Regions from separate parts of the Homo sapiens genome. Here region 1 is linked to region 2. Evidence: promoter capture Hi-C in human tissues and cell types (Jung and others, 2019). All regions are on one chromosome and are shown on one strand. The core of a region is centred on a gene start or on the middle of the fragment in contact, and the rest is flanking DNA. Distances in the headings are between cores, read along the strand shown. Region 1 overlaps CCDC30 (coiled-coil domain containing 30). Region 2 holds the start of CLDN19 (claudin 19).

What was found. Contacts are between HindIII fragments. The study calls those that stand out against the background at their distance.
Region 1: a contact is called between a fragment that was not itself captured here and the fragment with the promoter of CLDN19 in region 2, in 4 of the 25 tissues and cell types used here (IMR-90 fibroblasts, bladder, dorsolateral prefrontal cortex and 1 more).

Annotation. Positions count from the first base shown.
Region 1 is chr1:42,539,309-42,544,480 of GRCh38, forward strand. CCDC30 (coiled-coil domain containing 30) reads left to right here. Exons shown (of 21, transcript NM_001395517.1): 8 at 1-2. Among named protein-coding and RNA genes, the nearest start is that of CCDC30, 79 kb to the left of the region's middle. The HindIII fragment of the contact is 4,163 bases long and covers 1,211-5,172 here.
Region 2 is chr1:42,738,421-42,743,353 of GRCh38, forward strand. CLDN19 (claudin 19) reads right to left here and starts at 1,816. Exons shown (of 5, transcript NM_148960.3): 1 at 1,421-1,816; 2 at 1-165. The coding sequence starts at 1,643. RefSeq lists an enhancer at 3,173-3,775. The HindIII fragment of the contact is 9,679 bases long and covers 167-4,933 here.

The DNA.
Region 1 (5,172 bases), core at 2,042-4,541, 200 kb before region 2:
AGGTGAGACTGAGTTAGGTATTTAAATGTTCAATATTTAATGTAGCTTTTATGAGGATAGGTTAAAAGGAAATTAATTTTAAGCAACAGATGATTTGGGAATTGGAGTTTCTTCTATTATTATAGCATAAATTGCCATATACTGCCATATACTGTGGATTATGAGTCAAGCTATATGTCAAGATAAATATTCAGACTTCAACCAGCACTTGGCAATTAGGATTAATCTGCAAATTTTTTTACTTTAAATCAGCTTCCCACCAACTTAATTTTTGGAGTACATATTATAATGTAAAATATTTATTTAAATGTCTTCAATTTAAAAATTTAGGATCAAAGCATCTTTCTATAATGTAAAAGATTTATTTAAATGTCTTCAATTTAAAAATTTAGGACCAAAGCGTCTTTCTCAGTTACACTGAAAATTGGGCTTAGAATTAGGAAAATGTTCAAATGTCCTGATTCAAGCTTGTTCCTTAAGTTTAAAAATGGCTTCCAGGGAGCCTAAGTTTAAAAATGTGCCCAGGAGTTAGAGGCTGTAGTGTGCTGTGATTGTGCCTGTGAATAGCCACTGCATTTCAGCCTGGGCAGCACAGTGAGACCCCATCTCTAAAAAAAAAAAAAAAGAAAAGGCTACCTGGCCAGGGCAAAGGATTCCCATCTAGTCCAATACTAGACTGAAAGGTTGCCTGTATAATTTCTAGAGTCCCACCTATTAGGTTATCACTATCTCCTCCTGGCTGAAAATTCCTTTCCTCGATCACTCTTTTGACCTAGACTAAAGATTAAGGAGCAAAGTCTTGAATACAGCAGTTAAAATATATTAGGCTATATTTTAACACCATATGTAAGGTGAGTAACTAAATCAAAGCCTAATTTAACCTATGTGTAGTTATCCCAGAAAATCAGGAGCAGGTTGCTGAGGGATTGGGACATAGATCAGATAGCATGTGACATGGGAGGGAAAGGTCCAGAACATAGGGTTTGCTGCCTGGGAGAGTAGCTATGTAGAGCATAATATACAACTAAGCCTTTTTTGTGGGACCTTGTCAGCAAGGTAAGTTATCATCACGTTGTACAGTTAAAGGGCCAGGCCTTTTAAAATATCATTGAAAAAGTTAACAACAGATGAGCTGAAATGAGAAGAATATAATATAAAATAAAGAGATCCAGATCTGCTCTTCTGGTAATCTGGGTCTCCTTTTTTCTTAAACTTTTTATGTTGAAATAATATCAGACTCACAGAAAAAATTATGAAAGTACAAAGACTTCCCATATACTTTCACTCTTCCAAATGTTAACATGGTATCGTGTTTACCTTATCATTGTCTCTCTTTCCCTCTACACACACACACACACACATACACATACACACACACACACACAGTTTTTTATAAACTCTTTGAGAGTAAGTTGGAGACATAATCTCCTTTACCCTTAAATATTTCCATGTGGGTTTACTAAAAACAATAACATCTCCTATTACCACAGTACAAGTCTCAAAATCAGGAAATTGACATTGACACAATACCATTATCTAATCTATAGCTCGTATTCAGATTTTATTCTGATTCCCCTCTATAGCAAGAGAATAACTTTTTTCCTAGTCTGAGATCCAACCCAGGATCATACATTGCATTTAATTGTCATGTCTCTATAGCTCCTTCAATCTGCAAAAGTTCCTCAGTCTGTCTTTGTCTTTTATGATTTTGATATTTTCGAAGAGTACTGTCTCAGTCAGTTTGGGCTGCTATAACATAATACAATAGACTGGGTAGATTAAACAACAAATATTTATTTCTCTCAGTTCTAGAGGCTGGGAAATCAAAGATCAAGATGTTGGCATATCTGGCATATTCAGTGTCTGGTGAGGGCATTCTTCCTGATTTGCAGACAGCTATCTTCTCATTGTATCTTCACATGGCCAACAGCAAAGAGAGAGAGAGAGTGCAAGCTTTTTCCTGTCTCTTCTCAAAAGGGCACTACTACAATCATGAGGGCTGCACCCTTGTGCATTAGTTACTTGCCAATGTGTCCTCCTAATACCATCCCATTGAGGGTAAGGCTTTCAACATATGAACTTTGAGTCAACACAAACATGCAGTGCATAACAAGACCATTGATTTTGAAGAATGTCTCTTAATTTGGATTTGTCTGATGTTTTCTCACGATGTAATTCAGATTACCCACACTACAGAGATAATGTTGTATCCTTCTCAGTGTATTTTATCAGGAGACATGACATTTTTGTTCTATTCCTCATGATATTAACTTGGATCATTTGGTTAAGGTACTGTCTGCTAGATTTCTACACTACAAAGTTATTACTTTTGCCTTTGCAATAGATACATATCTTGTGGGGAGATACTTTGAGACTATGTGTTATGTTTCCCATCAAACTTTTACTCATTAAAAGTTTCTGTTTTGAATCTTTGATTTTTAAGTTATATTCTAGTTTTTCTTCAGAATATAGAGTGCTTTAGACTTAAAGATAGTCTTGCTAAAGAAGCTGTATGTATTTGCTGAAGCCCACATTTTACAGGCTGTCATTTTTGTTTGGGTTACAACATCTAGACTCATACAGAATTTTAGAGCTGAAATGAGTATGATCATGTAGACCAACTCCTTCAGTTTACACATAAGAACACCAAGGCCCAGGGATATTAGACTGCTGCCAAGTTACATGGTGATTCTCAGCCTATGCTCTTTCTACCCTAGCCTAAGGCCTCAATCAGAAAGTGGAACCATAAGCTTAATTCTTATGCTACTTAAACATGGCTGATTATTAAACTGAGCTATATCACTAAGATACAATTTTGGTAGGAAGAAGTCTGTGGAACAGAGTTGGTCCTGTTCCACAATAGCCATGTCATGGAGGGTCTGATGGCTTTAACTTTCTTTGTTATAAAGAATAAAGCTTCTACTCACTTAAGATATACACTACTTTGTCATGTGAGAATTCAGAATACCTAGAAAATGCTTTGTGTTAGTGTCACCATCCTTTGCAGAAACCCTCAGCAGCTTTCAGTTTGCTATAACGTCAAATCTAAACTCCACTGTTTTATCCTTTTTTTTTCTGAGATGAGGTCTCTCTATCACCCAGATTGGAATGCAGCGGCAAGATCATAGCTCACCTCCCCCTCCTGGCCTCAGGTGATTGTCCTGCCTCAGCCTCCCAAGGAGCTGAGACCACAGGCACATGGCACCACACCTGGCTAATTTTAAATTTTTCTTTTTTTTTTTTTTTTTTTTTTGAGACGGAGTCTCGCTCTGTCGCCCAGGCCGGACTGCGGACTGCAGTGGCGCAATCTCGGCTCACTGCAAGCTCCGCTTCCCGGGTTCACGCCATTCTCCTGCCTCAGCCTCCCGAGTAGCTGGGACTACAGGCGCCCGCCACCGCGCCCGGCTAATTTTTTTTTGTATTTTTAGTAGAGACGGGGTTTCACCTTGTTAGCCAGGATGGTCTCGATCTCCTGACCTCATGATCCACCCGCCTCGGCCTCCCAAAGTGCTGGGATTACAGGCGTGAGCCACCGCGCCCGGCCTAAATTTTTCTTTAATAAAGACAGGGTCTCCCTATTTTGCCAGGCTGCCTTTCTTTACTACTTAAGTGACTAACATTTATTATCTGTAATGTTTACATTTTTACAATGACCACAAAGATTAGTGATTAAGTAGCATTTTGGAATATTTTTTCCTGCTTACAAAAATAATGCAAGCTCATTAATAAAATTGTCTTTTACGTTCCTTTATAATCTGACCTCTCCCTTCAATCTTGCCTTATTCCTTCTGAGTAGCTGGGACTACAGGCACCTGCCACCACGCCCAGCTAATTTTTTGTATTTTTAGTAGAGACGGGATTTCACTATGTTGGCCAGGCTGGTCTTGAACTCCTGACCTCATGATCTGCCCACCTCAGCCTCCCAAAGTGCTGGGATTACAGGTGTGAGCCACCACAACTGGCCTTCTTTTTTTTTTTTTCCCCTCCTTCCCTCCCTCCCTTCCTTCCTACCTTGCTTTCTTTTCTTTCTTTCTCACTCAGTTGTCTTTCTCACTCACGCTGGAGTGCTGTGGCACGATCTTGGCTCATTGCAATCTCCACCTCACAGGTTCAAGTGATTTTCATGCCTCAGCCATCCGAGTAACTGGGGTTGCAGCATGTACCACCACACCTGGCTAATTTTTCTATTTTTAGTAGAGATGGGGATTCACCATGTTGGCCAGGCTGGTCTCAAACTCCGGCAATCTTGCCTTATTTCTGCAGCTCCTTACTTTGTAGCCTCTATTCCAATGAAATCATCCTCCTTACTTTCCCCCAAATTACTCTATACTCAGTTCTATGTCAGTGCCTTTGGCCATATTGCTCCCCATGCTTAAAATGTGCTATTTGTAGTCTCTTCTCTTATCTATATCTTCCCAACTTGAAAGGACTAGTTCAAGACCAACCTTCTCCCCTAGAAAGGTTATAGTCCATATGAGATTTTATGGATTTTATGAGATTATAGTCCATTTTACACACTGTAGTTTCTCTTCAGAGAATTGAAAAGGCATAGGAAACCAAAGGGATCTCTTAAAGTAAACTTAAATTGATCTTTATAATTAAGTCCATTGTGTTCTTAGAATCAAACATGTAGAAGCTTTGCATTTTCAGACAGGCTCAGGATATGAATCAGGCAGGCTATTGTCTACCTTAGCACAATACTTTGATGGGGATCCATTTTCCTTTCTTATTTTTTATTCCATTCTATTTGTTTGTTTATTTGGGTACAGACACGGGGTCTTGCTATGTTGCTTAGGCTGGACTCAAACTCCTGGCCTCAAGCAGTCCTCCCACCTCAGCCTCCCAAAGTGCTAGGATTACAGGCATGAGCCACTGCGCCTAGCCCATCTTCCTTTCTTAGAATCATTCCCCACCCATCCTTTCTACTCCCTGAAGGAAATGTTTTTTCATTTTATATGAAGATATAGAGTAACCTTTCAGGAAAGGAAATCTTTAGAATCTGTTTGTCAAAACAAAACAAAAAGACTGAGCAAATGGTTTGCCAAATCACAAAAGGCAGTGATTCTCAAAGCATCTACTTACAGAATTACATGGGAGGCTTATTTAAAGTACAGATTTCCATTTCCGCCCCCAGACCACTGATAGTGAGTCTTACTCAGGGTAGGGGCTACA
Region 2 (4,933 bases), core at 566-3,065:
CTGCCAGGATGAAGAGGGCTCCCCCGGCGATGGCAACACGGCCCTTGGCAATGGGGTTGCTGTCTCCCACCCGCGTACACTTCATGCCAACTACGCTGAGGACCATGGCCACGAAGCCCAGGAGCACGGCCACCACCATCAGGGCCCGCGCTGATTGGATGTGACCTAGGGTGGGCGGGATGACACTGAGTCGGGCTGGCGGGGATGGGGGTTGGGTCGGTGCCTGGGGTCGGTGGAAGGAGCCCAGCTTGAGAGGGGCTTGAGCAGGAGCTGGCCTGGGGGGTCAGACCACCTTCTGGCAGGTGCAGGATAGTGAGGAGTGACAGCCCGGGCATGAGGACAGGGTGTGGGGGTGAGAGTCCCCTTCACTGTCAACGCCATTCTCCACTCGCCCTTGCAGGCTTTTCCGGTAGTATGATTCACTCTGCTGTTGCTTTCTGGCCTGGGGACTCCCTCTTGGGCTTGGCCCATCCTCCCAAGCAGCTGAGGGCAGCTCCAGGGTCCCCTCAGGTTTGGTAGGTGGAAGAGCTGGGGGTATCTGAGGCCCAGCTCAACTCAGCCTGAGCCCCGCAGCAACCCCTCCCCAGCAGCCATTCAGACAACAGTCACTTTCCCCTCTGCCCATGGCAGCTGGAAGCTTGCCTCTTCACGGGTGCATGGGTCCATCCTGGGCCCTGGGGGGTGCTCAGGAGACCTGGGTCCCTCAGCGAGGCTAGATGACCTGCCTGAACTGACCTGCCTGAACTGGCACAATGGGGCTGGTTGAAGGCCGCTCTGCTCCCAGCTCCCATGGGGAGCAGATTGTCCCTGGGGGCTCCTGGGCAGATTGCAGGTGGATCACCTCCACCCCAGAGTTAGAACTTCGGCGGTGCCTGTCAGGCTCATCTCCACACCCCAGAAGGAGAGGGACTGCATGCAGACACACCTGTCTGTGCATGCATGTGCACGTGTGTGCGTGTGCATGCGTGTTTGCATGCATGTGCATGCACCCATATGCTGGCACACAGGCCTGGGAGCAGGACTAGGGAGCAGGTGTGCATCATACAGTGTGTGTCTGTCTACTGACTGTGGGGAGAAGTGGATGAAGGGTCTTAACTGAGTCTTTCAGAGTGCCACAGGTATTAGTATTCCCCTTTAGAGATGAGAACATCACAATGGGAAGAGGTTTGGTGACTAGTTCAAAGTTATAGTGACAGAGCAGGAATCTGGACCCACAGCCGCCAGACCCTAGAGCCCTCCCCTCCCACAGGGCAGCAGGCTGGCCTGGACCGTCAATGGGCACAGGGCAGTAGTGGGGGAATTGTAGAGCGGAGGCTGGAGGTTGGAGCCCAGCGCAGATAGCAGACTGTGAGGAAAACTTGCTCCAGACTCCCCTGCTGTTCCCACCTCCCATCTCCCACCCCGCCGGCCTGGGGCCTACCGTCCAGGGCGAGCAGCGAGTCGTAGAGCTTGCACTGCACTTGCCCAGTGCTCTGGGAGGCGCAGGACATCCAGAGCCCTTCATAGAGGCCCACGGCAGTGATGATGGCGTCGCCTGCGTAGGAAGACTGCTTCCACTGTGGCAGGGCTGTGCTAGCAATGATGCCCACCCAGCCACCCAGGGCCAAGAAGTAGCCCAGGAGCTGGAGGCCTGAGTTGGCCATGGCCCAGGAGAGAGGACCGAGGGTCCCAGGACTCAGAGCTGGGCCAGGGTGCCAGCAGGGGCTTTGGTCATGGCCAGGTGGGAGGAGCAGCTGGGCAGGGGGAGCAGCGAGAAGGAGGGTCAGAGGCAGAGAAGGAGAGGTGGTGCGGCGGCAGCGGCTGGAGCAAAGGCAGTGGCTCTGGACTCCAGAATGCAGGGGGAGGCCCAGGGGCTGGAAAAGGCCAGGGCCCGCCCACAGCAGCCGCCTAAGCCAGAGCAGGGTCCCCAGCAAAGCTCATGCCCAGCCCCCTGGGGGCGGAGGGCCGGCCCATGGCCCAGGTGGTGTCCCTGCCCCGCCCCGTTCCGCAGGGATAGGGAAGGGAGGGGCTGAGAGGAATGACCCAGCTGCCCTCTGGGCCTTTCCCCACAGGGAAACCCCTTTAGGAACCTGATTCGGGTGTCCTAAAATTCGGATAATCCCTAACCCAAACACCAGCCCTGGGAGGATGGACTTTGCTCTTGCAAGGCTGATCTAACCCTTGGGGTTTTCTGCCCTTTGACTTTAGGACAGAAGGGAAAGGAATGCCAGTTTGCAGCGGGTAAAACTAGAGTTAGATGTCAAGGATAACTTTTTGGCAGGGGCTCTGAAGCTGGATGTGGGGAGGCTGAGCTAGCGGTGGGGTGTTGGGAAGAGGGGTCATGGGTACCTGGGAGCTGTGTGTGCCAAAAATCAGGGAGGCCAGACCAGGAAATATGTACTGTGGGGTCTTTTTGAGATCTGAGGGGGACAGAAAAGGGGCCCTATCGAGGCTGGGCCAGCGCTGGCTGCCGGCCAGCAAGGGGCCTGGTGGGGAGCTGGGGAGACAGCCCCAACCTTCTGGCATCAGCCTGAAGGAAGGCGGATTGCTCAGCCCCTTAATCCCCTTGCTGGCTGGCTTAGTAGCTCCTGCTGGGACTGGAACACTGGGCCCTGGCCCCCAACTCTAGAGCAGCCTGGCGCGGAGCAGTGGCCTCTGCACATTCCCGGGGTTCAGGCTGCCCGCTCCGAGCACCCCCACCTCCCTCTTCTCTCTCCCAGTCTCTCTTGGTCTTCAGGAGTAGGGGAATGTTTAACTCTCTTCCACCTCATTAGCAATCCCCTCACGTTCAAGTGGGCCCCACTGCAGCGTGGGTGCAGAAGGAATGTCACAACCCTGCTTCCACTCCTGCCAGCCCCCCGCCGCCCCCTCCGTCCCCAACAGCCCACCCACCCTTCCTGGACTGCACTGGGGGAAGGCAGGGTCCTGCTGCAGACCCCTGCTGGCTTCCTCCCCCACAGCCCCAACCCCCCTCTGAAGGGACAAGTCCCCAGCCCGCTCTTGCATTCTTCACGTGGCTATGCAAACGAGAGGGTGCCAGGCGCTGAGCAGACAATGGCAGCCCTGTGTGCCCGCCCAGGGCGTAGGCCTCTGGTATGGCCTGCAGCTCTGGCCAGAGATGGGGGAGTGGTCTGCCATCTGAGGGTCAAGGGTGGGCACTGCTTGACCTGTGGTGGTGCACACTGGGACCCTCAGGCTCTCTGTGCTGGGAGGGTCAGAGCCACGTGGATCCGAGCACACACAGACCTGCTTCCTGGACGACCTGTGGGTCCCAAGACCAAATGGGGTCTAGGACAGTGGCAGAGAAGTAAGTCCTGAGCTCAGATTCTTCTACCACAATGACAAGACAGTAGGATTGAGGGGAGCCTCCTCCATCCTACTGGGGCCGCAATGGGCACCCTGTGACCAGTGCATTAATTTAAGCATGTGGGCCACTGTTGCAGGCAGCAGGCCTCCTAACAGTAAGGAGACCACGGCAGAGGGAGGTAATAGACCCCCAGCCAGGAAACAGCAGGAAGGGCTTTCCGCTTGAAACTGTGTGGTGCTGGCCCCTGTGGTCTCTCTCCCACACTCCTCCCTTTTTGAGGGAGGCACCAGGTCCAGATTGAAGGGGGCTGCGGGCAGTGACAAGATGCTCCCCAGGGGTGACCTGAATGACTGTGGTGCCTCAGGGTCCTCACTCTAAATGGGAGGTTTGCTTCATGGAGTTGTGGTGGTCCGTTAAAGTAAGCGATGTCTGGGGAGGGCAGGGGCCTGGTGCTGGGTAGCTGCTCCGCATATGCTCCTCCAAAGGCAAAGTCCTCCTTCTCTCCACGCTGGGCCTTGGCCCCTTTTCCCCGCCATCTGCAGGCGCTCTCTCTGTAGGGAAGATCCAGGGGTCATTCTGGTTTCAGGGGGACCTGGGTCAGGAGCCCAGAGGCCAGTCAGAAGCATGCCTCAGAGACCATGGGCTGCGGCCCCCTCCATTGACAATTTGAGGGCCAAAGAGAGAAAGGGAGCCACGGGTCCACAGGGCCACAGAGCCAGCAGGAGGCCTGCATGCTCCTCCATCCTGGGTGTTCCCAGAGCCTCTTCGTGATCCGGAACAGTGCTCTCCTCTTCCTCTGAAGTGCTTCTGTTTATCCCTTCTCTTTGTTATTTGAGGCTTTGAGTCTGTTCTACCAAAATATTCTCTCCTACCCTGACGGCCTTCCCTCATTCTTGTTCCAAAGCCTTTTGGAATTCAGATTCTGCTTCTGGAGCGGCATTCCTTAACCTGGCACAGCTTCTCCACCCAGGACACCTACCACTCCTGGTGCCCCCCCTTGCAGTCCAATGACTCCCAGACATGCGGGGAGAACAGGAAGGCTCAGGGTCACAGCCCAGCCTCCATTAAGAGCTCACTGAAACTGCCCTGGGGTAGCACAGCACCCTGTGCTTTCACTCAGGCTATGAGAAGCCTACAGTTCTAGCTTTACCCCTGCCACTGAAAAGCTATGGGACATTAGCCAAATCCTCAGCTTCCCTGGGCCTGGTTTCTCCATTGAAAAGTAGGGATAATAACACTTGCCCTGTCTGATGCATGAGGGAGTTTACAAGGATCAGATGATAGGTGAGAAAGGCTGTTTGAAAGCATAAAACGCCTGCAGAACTGTGACTAATGAAAGCTCTGTTCCAAAAAGACTCCCCGCACAGTCTGCCCCTCCAGCCTTCGCACTCTGGGAGTGGGCAGACTGCCTGTGGCTGAAGACCCACTGCCACTTCCTCTGCAACAGTGCCTGACCGAGAGCCAGCCTTGCTAGGTATGTGTTGATCATTGACTGATTGGTATGAGGATTCAATGCTTTTGCCTCCCTCCCTGTGAAAAATCGGAGACCTTTCCACCGCCCTCTCTCATTGTCAGTTAGGAGGGTCCGATTCAGTCTTTAGCAATCTAGCACCTTCTCTGCAATCATCATTTGAAATTTTGGAGTTC